Linked DNA regions of Homo sapiens: all the other regions are linked to region 3. The links are contacts of gene promoters, found by promoter capture Hi-C in blood cells and fetal thymus (Javierre and others, 2016). All regions are on one chromosome and are shown on one strand. Each heading gives the region's core, a stretch centred on a gene start or on the middle of the fragment in contact. The rest is flanking DNA. Distances are from core to core; before and after follow the strand shown. Region 1 overlaps ULK4 (unc-51 like kinase 4). Region 2 overlaps SCN11A (sodium voltage-gated channel alpha subunit 11). Region 3 holds the start of EIF1B (eukaryotic translation initiation factor 1B).

Region 1 (4,268 bases), core at 518-3,017, 1.6 Mb after region 3:
AGACAAACTCCCACACCCATCCTGTAGGGGTTTCAGGAACAGAAAAAGGATGAAATAGGAAGAAATCTAAGAAATAATATAAAAGCTAAAGGAGGGATGAAGAGGCTAGGCATCGTGGCTCACACCTGTAATCCCGGCACTTTGGGAGGCCAAGGCAGGTGGATCACTTGAGGTCAGGAGTTTGAGACCAGCCTGGCCAACATGGTGAAAACCCATCTCTACTAAAAATACAAAAATTAGCTGGGCATGGTGGTGCACACCTGTAATCCCAGCTACTCGGGAGGCTGAGGCAGGAGAATCCTTGAACCCGGGAGGTGGAGGTTGCAGTGAGCCAAGATCGCGCCACTGCACTCCAGCCTGGGCGACAGAGCAAGACTCTGTCTCAAAATAAACAGAAAGAAAAGAAGGGAAGGAAGGGACAGGAGGGACGGGAGGGAAGGAAGGGACAGGAGGGACGGGAGGGACGGGAGGGACGGGAGGGACAGGAGGGACAGGAGGGACGGGATGGGGGAAGGAAGGGATGGGAGGGGGGAAGGAAGGGACGGAAGGGGGGAAGGAAGGGATGCGGGGAAGAAAGGGACAGAAGGGGGAAGGAAGGGACGGGAGGGGGAAAGAAGGGACGGGAGGGGGAAAGAAGGGACGGGAGCGGGGAAAGAAGGGACGGGAGGGGGAAAGAAGGGACGGGAGGGGGAAAGAAGGGACGGGAGGGGGAAAGAAGGGACGGGAGGGGGAAAGAAGGGACGGGAGGGGGAAAGAAGGGACGGGAGGGGGGAAGGAAGGGACGGGAGGGGGAAAGAAGGGACGGGAGGGGGGAAGGAAGGGACGGGAGCGGGGAAGGAAGGGACGGGAGCGGGGAAGGAAGGGACGGGAGGGGGAAGGAAGGGACAGGAGGGGGAAAGAAGGGATGGGAGCGGGGAAAGAAGGGACGGGAGGGGGAAGGAAGGGACGGGAGCGGGGAAGGAAGGGACGGGAGCGGGGAAGGAAGGGACGGGAGCGGGGAAGGAAGGGACGGGAGCGGGGAAGGAAGGGACGGGACAAGACGGGACTGGAGGGAGGGAGGGAGGGAGGGAGGCAGGCAGGCAGGCAGGAAGGAGCAAATTAGTAAAAAGAGATTCCTAGAGACAATCTAGTAAAATTTACAGGCCTGAAATGAAAAGAAAAGCTAACTCAAACAAGTCACACAGAAGAGGGAAAAAAAAAAAAAAGGTAAGGTTTACCCACAAGTCCTACAGAACTACAGTTAGTACAAGGAAGAGAGCTCAAACTCCAAAGCATGGCACAGAGGTAAGCCACTGAGAGGCCTTCTTGAAAACAAACAAAAAATACTAACAGCCAGGCGCGGTGGCTCATGCCTATAATCCCAGCACTTTGGGAGGCCAGAGCAGGTGGATCACCTGAGATCAGGAGTTGGAGACCATCTGGCCAACACGGTAAAACCTCATCTCTACAAAAATACAAAAATTAGCCGGGCATGATGGCAGGTGCCTATAATCCCAGCTACTCGGGAGGCTGAAGCAGAAGAATCACTTGAACCCGGGAGGCAGAGGTTGCAGTGAGCTGAGATTGTGCCACTGCACTCCAGCCTGAGTGACTGAGCGAGACTCCGTCTCAAACAAACAAAAAAAAACCTACCAAATGATAAAATCTAATCAACCAAGAGAAGAACTACAGCAAAGAAACAGGAAAACTATGTTTTTAATTAAAAAATTTATGATGGATGAGCATTTACTTTACCTTATTCAAGTATAAAACTCTTATTTGAAAAATAGAAAAATTCCTCCTAAATTCATATCTCAAAAAGGCACTTGCCACAGTAAAAAGCAACCTATGTAATGAGAGAAGATATTTGCAATCATTTATCTGACAAGGGGTTAATATCTAGAATATATAAAAAATACCTACAACTCAACAACATAAAACTCAGTTCAAAAATTGGCAAATGACTTGACTAGATCTTTCTCCAAAGAAGATATACAAATAGCCAACAATCACACGAAAAGATGTTCAACATCACTAGTCACAAAATACAAATCAAAACTGTAAGATACTACTTCACACCCATCAGGATAGCTGTTAGCAAAAAACAAAAACAGAAAACACTAATGTTCACAGCAGCATTGTTCACAATAGCCAAAAGATATAAACAAGCCAGTGCCCAACAACAGATGAAAAGATAAACAAAATGTAGTATATGCATACAACGGAATATTATTCAGCCTTAAAAAGGAATGAAATGCTGACACATGTTAGTTATAACATGGATGAACCTTGCAAATGAAACCAGCCCAATTGTCCTATAGAACTGATGTTTACAGTCTTTTAAAATAAACGTAGAAATTGACCCTCCCAGTCTTAAAACTTGAGGAAGTTACATTTGTCTTATCTGAGTTCCTTTCTTGGGAAACCAACCATCAGGCCTCCCAGATAGTTATCAAGGAACTGAAACTTACCAAATCACCATATCTGGACCATAAGACACCAGACCCCCTCACCCATTACAATTGCCTAACCAACTACCTGCTTCCTGTTGACCAATTCCTCTTCCTCACCCTTCCTTGATTCCTGTTTTCCCATACATGGTTATATTTCTTCCCTGCTAAATACATCCCTGGTTTTAGTCAGTTGAGGAGACAAATTTGAGACTGATCTCCCATCTCCTTAGCTGCAGCACCCAATTGAAGCCTTCTTCCCTAGCAACACTCATTGTCTCCGTGATTGGCTTTCTGTGCTGTGAGCAACAGGACTTAAACCAAACCCCTTGATATTTCAGTAGCAATATGAGGTACTCACCATAAGCAAATTCACAAAGATAGAATAAGTAGAGTATAGGTTACCAGGACTGGGGAAGGAAAGGGGAAGTTACTGTTTAATGGGTAAAGAGCTTCTGTTTAAGATGATGAAAAAGTTTTGGAAATGAATAGTGGTGATGGTTATACAACAATGAGAATGAACTAAATGCCATTATATACATAAAAATGGCTAAAATGGAATATTTTAAATTATGCATAATTTACAATTAACAAATTTTTTAAATTACAGTATTACACTATTACTATATGTGAATTATACCTCAAAGTTGACTGGCAAGGATAAAAGGATATACAATTTGATAAATACTCAATGTTGGAAGTTCTAACAAAAGGCATTTTAAACACATTGACTGGGATTATATATTGATACAATTTTTTTAAGAGTATTTCAGCAATTTTTCAGAAGTCACAAAAATATTTACTGCCTTCTATCCATCTGTTCTAATTCTACAAATCTTCCCTAAAGAGAAAAAGAAAAAGCAGGCACAAAGATTTATTCTCAAAAATGTTCATCAAAATATTATTTACAACATTATAATACTATCCAAAAATAGTAAATAAAATGATCAGATATTCACAACATATAAAAAGTTTATCTTAAGTATTATGTATTTTATTTTTAAATGTTAATAATAACATTTACAATACGTAATATATATGTTACAGGGGAAAACAAACATAAAATTATATCATGTGATTCTAATTTTTTATATACAAAACAAAACTAAAGAATAAATATATCTACGTCAATAATAATTATCTCCCAGACTAAGTTAAGGACCCTTTATCATATGCTGTCAAGGTAATATAACCTGAGGTCAGAGAAAACGTCGCTGGAAGTGGCTTTGAATGGAGAAAGAATAAAAGAGGATTCCTACCAGAGAACTTGTCTACCTCAGTATCACTTTATTCAAATTAAAACTGTTTTACAATCAAACTTCAATTTTTAAAAGTGGGGGAAAAAAACAGTATGTGTGAATTTTGGTATCCAAGGGGATACTAAAACCAATCTCCGGGCTGATACAGAAGGATGACTGTACTTGGAAATGATCTGGAATGTCTGTTTTAAAATGTCAGCAGGGGGCACCCCATTCAAGGATATAACACATTTTAAATAAAGGTGTTTAAATAAGTATTTCATTGATTCATTTTTAATGAGCATACCATGAGCCTTCTCAAAGTATTAAATACTCAACCATTACCTAAAAATCCTACTTTTTATTACCAGATTTTACTTTGGGAGAGTAACATTAGAAGATGTATAGTAAGAACTACCCTTATTATTAAGCATTTTCTAAACTTCTATTGGTTCACCCATATTTCACCAACATAGAAGAATAATTATTATCATACCAGTGCCACAATCCACAAAATCCTTTCGCCTCCATTTTTTCATGTGCCTGTCCTAACAATCATGAGATAAGCAAGCTTGATGATAATAACTACAACTTCTACAAC
Region 2 (3,854 bases), core at 910-3,409, 1.3 Mb before region 3:
AATTTTTGTATTTTTTGATAAAGACTGGTTTTGCCACGTTGCCCTGTTTGGTCTTGAATTCCTGGGCTCAAGCGATCCACACACCTCAGCCTCCCAGAGTGCTGGGATTATAGGTGTGAGCCATTGCACACAGCCCCCCACCCCCCACCCCCACCCCCATCCCCCCACCCCCACCCCCACCCCCTTTTTTTTTTTTAAGACTGGGTCTTGCTATGTTTCCCAGGCTGGAGTGCAGTGACTATTCACAATTGTAGTATACTGCAGGCCTCAAACTCCTGGGCTTAAGCAATCCTCATATATCAGCCTTCCAAGTAGCTGGGACTACAGGCATGTACCACCATGCCTGGCAATTAACTGATTTTTAACAAAGGCCCTATAACATATTGGGAAAAGAACAGCCTGTTCAATAAATGGTGCTGGGAAAACTGACCCCCTATATGAAAAGGAAAGAAACTAGACTCCCTACGTCTCACCCTATACAAAAATCAACACGAAATGGATTAAAAACCTAAATATAAAACCCAAAACTATGAAACTACTAAAAGATAATACAGGAGAAATGCTTCAGGACATTGGCCTGGGCAAAGATTTTATGGATAAGCCCTCAAAAGCACAGGCAACAAAACCAAATATAGACAAATTGGATTACATCAAACTAAAAAGCTTCTGCACAGAAAAGGAAACAATCAATAGAGGAATGAGACAGCCTACAGAATGAGAGAAAATATTTGCAAAGTATTCATCCAACAAGGAATTAATATCCAGGAAGTATAAAAAACTCAAACAACTCAATAGCAAAAAAAACCCAAATAATTTTTAAATGGGCAAATGATCTGAATACACATTTTTCAAAAGAAGACATATAAATAGCCAACAAATACATGAAAAAAATGCTCAACATCACTAATCATCAGGGAAATACAAATCAAAACCACAGTGAGATATTATCTCACTCCAGTTAGAATCGCTATACGAAAAAGACAAAAACAAATGCAGAGGGTGAGGATGCAGAGAAAAGGGAATTCATACACTGTTGATAGGAATGTAAATTAGTTCAACCATTATGGAAAACAGTGTGTAGATTTCTCAAAGAACTAAAACTACAACTACCATATGATCCAGCAATCCCACTACTACCCAAAGAACAGGAAATCAGTATGTCAAAGAGATACCTGTCCTCCCACAGTTACTGCAGCACTATTCACAGTGGCCAAGATACGGAGTTAACCTAAGTGTCCATCAAAAGAAGAATGGATAAAGAAAATGTGGTACATATATGCAATGAAATACTATTCAATCATAAAAAAGAATAAAATTATGTCATTTGCAGCAACATGGATAGCACCGGAGGTCATTATCTTAAGTGAAATAAGCCAGGCACAGAAAGATAAATACTGCATGTTCTCACCAATATGTGAAAGAGAAATAAGTTGATCTCAGAGAAGTAGAGAACAGAATAGTGGTAACTAGTGGCTGAGAAGGGTAAAGGAGAGGATTATATATAGAGAGGTTGGTTAACACATATAAAATTACAGCTAGGTAGAAGGAATAATTTTTGGTGTTCTATATCACTGTAGGATGACTATGATTAACAATAATTTATTCCATATTTTCAAATAGCTAAAAGAGTGGATATTGAATTTTCCCAAAGCAATTATTACAGATTGTATACAGGTATCAAAATATCACACTGTACCCCATATATATGTACAATTATTATGTGTCAATTAAAAAATACATCCACAAATTTATTGATACTTCATAAAAAAAGGAGTCATCTAATCCCCTCTCCTTAGACACTGATGGCCTTAGTAACTAAGTTCTAATGAATTGACTATGGCTTAAAGTGACACTGCATGACTTCCACTGTGAGTTTAGAAAAAGCATTATAGCTTTCAACCAGATTTTTCTTCTTCGGGATGCTCATCCTTGGAACCCAGTTAGCATATTGTGAGGAACCAAATAGTGCTGTGGAAAGATCATGAGAAGGTGTTCTAGCCACAGCTTTGGCTAAGGACTAGGCCAACACCAGTATCAGTCACCAGACATGTGAGAGAAGGGGTCTTCAGATGATTCCAGCCCCAATCTTTTAGCTGCCCCAGCTGATGTGAAGTGGATAGTGGAACAGAGACAATCTGTTCCCATGAAGCTCTGCATAAATTACAGATTTGTAAGTAAAGTAAGGGTTGTAATTGTTTTAAACCATTGCATTTTGCAGATGGTTAAACAGCAATAGATAAAAGGAACAGGAAAAAAGAGTGCTGAATATTGGACAGTAGTTCAGAGCATATACTGCATCCTACAGGACAGTATCAAAAAGGGTTATCTCCCAGAAGGCACCATAGCTAAGTCTTCAATATATCTTCAATAAGACAAGATACTTCTCAGTGATTGAGTACACAATTAGACCAATAAATTCCATGGGCAATAGCCCATTGCATTACTTCTTTCATTGCAGAGTGAATTTCTTGGTCAAAAGCAATATAGTGTTAGAGAAAATGATAGTGTCTAAAGCACTGAGTAATTCCCTAGATGGTGGTGTCAGCGGAAGTACAGTGAGCAGGGAAAGCAAATCTCAATCTAGAATAAACATATTTTAGAGAGGACAAATAAGAACTCCCTCAATGATGGGGAGGGCCAATGACCAATGGAATAGACTTGCCTACATGTGACTGGCTGACCCTCCCAGAGCATGGGGTATTGGTCACTGCTTCTGAACACCCAGCGGTGGCTTGGTGATCCCATGCATAGCTCCAATCCTGTTGCCATTGCCATTGCCATTTATTTCATGATTCTACTGAGCAGGCAGTGAGGCTGAGTTTCATCACAAAGCAGTTCATTTCATCCATATGATTCTTAAGATTTATTCTGAGAGGTCCATCACTATATCCCTTCTGGAGTCTTCCTTGTCACTAGTTCTCCAGTCTTGCTCTTTCCATGTCCTTCACAAACTGGCCAAAAAATTATCCTCTGACCCTGAATTGACCATTTCTCCTTTCAGCCAAACTGAACATCAAAACATACTGGTGAAAATTCTGCCCACTGAAAGAACTTCACTATTTCAATATTTTTCAGGTCCAAAGCAGGACTACAACATATCAATTTCTAGCAAGTACCAGTATATTGTCCAGAGCAACATACCTGTATTGTATTTTGCACATCATAGGTGCTCAATAGACACTTAAGCAATTTTTAAAATACAGACATATTATTTCCCTACCTGTATTTCAACAGCTTCCCATTGGTCTAAAAGATCCTGCTGGGTATGGCCTCTGCATACTCCTTTCACTTCTCTGTACTCTAAGCCTTGACTCTCAGTTCCTGTAATGTTCCATGCTCTCTCCTGCTACAAGACCTTTGCTCAGACTGTTCCCTCTCCTTGCCTAGTTAACTCTTGACTCAAGATACTTCCTGTCTTACAATCATCTTTCTTCATAGTACTTATCTCTGTATTAATTCCTGTCTCATCCTGGGACTCTAAGTTCTATGACTATGTGCACTCACCACTGATTCCCCAACACCTAATATAGTGCCTGGCATATATGATATGCTAAATAATATTTTGTTAAATGAATGAATACATGAATCAGTGAATGAATAAGCCTGTAATGATGCAGTAATTTACCTATAAGTTATCACTGCCAGTTTTGCTTAAGAAGCTTTCTGCCATCACAATTTTTACTCATCTAATTCACATTTCTTTATTAATTTAAGAAGTATTTGTCAAGACAACTTTTCTAAGCATTACTTATATACTAGCACTATGCAACAGAAATTTGTGACCACATATGTAATTTTAAATATTCTAATATCCATGACAAAATTAATAAATTTTATTTAGCCTAATATACCCC
Region 3 (3,708 bases), core at 145-2,644:
TCATAGTGATAGAAGGACCTGTCACTTCGCACCAACAGAAGTTACACATACTTTCATATTAAATTTCTGATGTTACGGACATCACAAAATATCTCTTACATTTATCAGCTTTTTGAAATTATAGTATTAGACCTAATCTTGCTAGATCTTATTAGTGTATTAATAAAGAAATACACGTTATTAATGTATTTTTTAAATTTCAATATAATTGGTTTCCTTTGTAATCCTATGTACTTTGTGAACTTAAAACTTAACTTCTCATTATTCTGAGAAGGGATTCAGCAGCTTCACAGGATTGCCATGGCACACACAAAAAAGTTAAGAATCCCTAAATTTTAGTCTATCTCTTTGCTTCCAGAAAGCCAACCAAGTTTGACAATTGAACACACCTGCCTGAGTGAGCCAATTCCCAAAGTCTCGGGTTTATTTTTCTGTGCGTGACCTGATAGGAAGATATTACGGTCTGGTACATGACTCCATCAATTAACCTATTTGCTGAGCTCACCTTCAGCTTATACCTGGCATCTTTCCTGAATTCTCTGTTGGGCCTTCTGAGGCACACAAAATGAGCTGACAAGCTGATTTTCTGGTATCTTCTGTTCATACACACCTGGCCCCCACTCGATGCCAGGCCCAGGATTAAGCTGGGCAGTGATTCTCAAGCCTGATCCCAGACCAGCAGGCAGGATCAGCATCACCAAGGAGCTTATGAGAATTGCAGATTTTCAGGTCACACCCTAGACTTCCTGAAACAGAAACTCTGGGGTCTATCAGTGTTTTCTCAAGCCCTCCAGAGACACACGCTTTAGTCTGAGATCCACCGTGCTAGGGAATCGGAGGTCCGTCCAATCCTGGAAAGAGAGGCTCCCATCTCCAGTATTGGTTGAGACTAACACCGCTCCTGCAACTGGGGTTGGAATTTCAATGCAGGTAGTTGCTGAGCGGGGGCCAATGAGTTGAAAGCCGGAGCAAGGGGACTTGTTTTGTTCCTGCACCCCGATTTTACTTACATTACCCGGGGCCTCGAGGGTGACTCATAGAGATTAGCCCTGAGCGTCGACCCCTCGGCGCCGCCACTGCACAGCGAGAGAAGGGGAGTCAAGAGAGACGCTTGAGTCCCTTGACTGTCCTCCCCTACGAGCTCTCTGGGAAGAGAGCCCCAGACCTGCGAACTCTGGGCCGCTCTGCGGCCGCTTGAACACTTCGCGGGTCTTCCGCCCCGCGCTAGAGGACGCACTCCGTGACGGGAATTGCGGTCTCGGCCGCCCCCGGCCTCAGGCTTTCCGGGCTCTGCTGCCTCCAGAAAACTACAAGTCCCAGGATGCTCGGCGCGGGACGGTCACGTGGGAGGGGCCGCGGGCGCGGCTAAATAGTCTCCATCGGCCATTTTGTGCGAGAAGCCGCAGCGCCGCCTCTTCTCTCGCGCCCTCGCCTCTTCCTCCGCCTCCTCCTTCGCCTCTTCCTGCCTCCTCCCGGCTTCCGCCGCCGCCACTCCAGCCTAATCCCAACCCCAGGGCGAAGCGTTTTCTTATTTATTTCCGTTTTCTCGCCACTACAGCCTCCTGACAAGGTGATCCGGGCGGGCCCCGCAGGAATTTTATCCCCTCACCGGCCTCACACTAGTATCGCATGTCCACTATCCAGAACCTCCAATCTTTCGGTAAGATCCCGTCGCCGCCGCCTCCCTCCCTTGCCCGGCGCGCATCTCGGCCTTTTGCCCGCCTGGCCACCGCCCCTAGGGGCCCCCTTTCTGCCCTTCCCGCACCCCTAGTGGGGCTTTGTCTCGGCGCCCAGAAAATGGCGACGGGGCCCCTGGCGACCCCTTCCCCGAGGACAGCGCCGGACTCCGAGCCCTCCTCTCGGAGCCCCGGCCGCGGGCCCTGCGCCACCCCCTGCCCCGTCCTTGACCCGGCTCTCGCCTCCGCTTCTGCCCCTTGAAACCTTGGCGATCCTATTTCGTGGACTCCTAGATCGGCCCTGCTACTTGCAAAGGGTATGCCGGGCCAGGGAAACCAGGGATCGGCGCCCGTTCTCTGGCAGCTCCTGGGGGCACTTAGGGAAAGATGCGGATGCAAGCCTCTGATCTGTCACTGGCCAGTGGTTCAGTCTTCTCTGCTTGCGTAGCAATTTGTTAAATTACGCCTCTTGATATATATGTAATCTACTTTTTTTTTGGCAAGGCACAGTTACGGTTAAATGATTAAGGTGGGCGTATTCGAATGTTTATGTTTTCATCAGAATGTAATCGAGATGACGCACATTTTTATAGCGGCTACAATATTAAGGTTTTCTAAATCTTTTTCTCATTAGAGGACCATATTGAACGATAACATTATTTATCTATAACAGCGTTTTTCTACAATGGACATAGCTGTTCAAATGTTTCTCTTTTTGTGAGAGTATCTTGGGGGTTTTATTAATACTCCACCCCCATCTCCATTCCTACCGGCAAAAACAGCAAAGGCACTAGAACCTTCATTGATGACTGTCTGGATTGGTAGTATAATGTATTTCTGGAAAGTACTTCTTAAAAAATATTTTTCTACTTTGGATTTTTTTTTTTTTTTTATCCATTCGCAGACCCCTTTGCTGATGCAACTAAGGGTGACGACTTACTCCCGGCAGGGACTGAGGATTACATTCATATAAGAATCCAGCAACGGAACGGCAGAAAGACACTGACTACTGTTCAGGGCATTGCAGATGATTATGACAAAAAGAAACTTGTGAAAGCTTTCAAAAAGGTAAAGGGATTAGGAAGAAAGGATTAGAGTTACTGATGCACACCTCTGAACTGGATTATGATTCACACCTTTATATCGGCGTGGATGAAAATAACTAGACCAAGAAAGTTGTTCTCATTTTTGTAATTAACATGTAAATATTTAGTTATTCTCCCAGTGTGGTCTCTCATTTTAAAAGAAGATTCGCGTTGCTTTTAAATAAATTTAAATGTGAAATATTTAGTTCTTGATGTTACACATAAAATCATTTCCTGGTTTACAAATTAATTTGGAAGGATTGTGGATTATAGGAGACAAAATCTGTTTCTCTAAATATGATCTAGCTTACTGAAATGGCTAATTCTGTTCATACGGTGAAATAAAACCTCATAGTAGTTGACTAAATTTTGTTGTATATTTATGCACTTTTCCAGAAATTTGCCTGTAATGGTACTGTGATTGAACATCCTGAATACGGAGAGGTTATTCAGCTTCAAGGTGACCAAAGAAAAAACATCTGCCAGTTTCTCTTGGAGGTGAGTGATTGGGTGCTTTATGTGTAACCTTGAGATTGCTTTTAAAATTGTATTTAAAGGCAACATGATTTGTTTTCTACTAAGTAAAAAATCATACGAATGAAGGAAATTAGGTGAAATAAAGACATGGTAGTTATTTGGAAAGCAAAGACCTTTATCTGGTTTATTTTGTCATTAGAGTATTCTGATCATTTCTTTATATACACACACAGGCTATTTCTTGGCATGTAAAGTATTCAAATACGTGTTGAATTGTTGGCTATCAGCAGTGCATGCCACAGACAACAGTGTTGCAGTAAGCTGTTGATAGTGATTCTTTTTAATTACTCTTCCATGTTTTCTTAATGAATTTTTATATTTCTCAGAGTTATTTTGCTAAATTAGATTTTATTTTACAGGTTGGCATTGTAAAGGAGGAACAGCTTAAGGTTCATGGATTCTAAAATGAA

The links. Contacts are between HindIII fragments. The CHiCAGO score rates a contact against its expected background, and 5 or more counts as called.
Region 1: a contact is called between a fragment that was not itself captured here and the fragment with the promoter of EIF1B in region 3, in 14 of 17 cell types (total CD4 T cells, naive CD4 T cells, monocytes and 11 more). The highest score is 21.4, in total CD4 T cells.
Region 2: a fragment that was not itself captured here is called in contact with the fragment with the promoter of EIF1B in region 3 in 3 of 17 cell types (naive CD8 T cells, non-activated CD4 T cells and total CD8 T cells); the score reaches 8.1 in naive CD8 T cells.

Annotation. Positions count from the first base shown.
Region 1 is chr3:41,890,295-41,894,562 of GRCh38, forward strand. All of the region lies in intron 16 of ULK4 (unc-51 like kinase 4), which reads right to left. Among named protein-coding and RNA genes, the nearest start is that of ULK4, 70 kb to the right of the region's middle. The HindIII fragment of the contact is 4,938 bases long and covers 1-4,236 here.
Region 2 is chr3:39,046,886-39,050,739 of GRCh38, forward strand. The region is part of intron 1 of SCN11A (sodium voltage-gated channel alpha subunit 11); the gene reads right to left. Among named protein-coding and RNA genes, the nearest start is that of SCN11A, 3.1 kb to the right of the region's middle. The HindIII fragment of the contact is 2,996 bases long and covers 662-3,657 here.
Region 3 is chr3:40,308,313-40,312,020 of GRCh38, forward strand. It overlaps EIF1B (eukaryotic translation initiation factor 1B), which reads left to right and starts at 1,395. Exons shown (of 4, transcript NM_005875.3): 1 at 1,395-1,660; 2 at 2,581-2,744; 3 at 3,158-3,259; 4 at 3,658-3,708. The coding sequence starts at 1,630. The coding sequence ends at 3,702. EIF1B-AS1 (EIF1B antisense RNA 1) reads right to left here and starts at 1,386. Exons shown (of 3, transcript NR_033965.1): 1 at 1,011-1,386. LOC124906228 (a long non-coding RNA gene) reads right to left here and starts at 499. Exons shown (of 2, transcript XR_007095876.1): 1 at 1-499. RefSeq lists an enhancer at 1,126-1,485 and a silencer at 1,756-1,805. The HindIII fragment of the contact is 2,965 bases long and covers 1-2,731 here.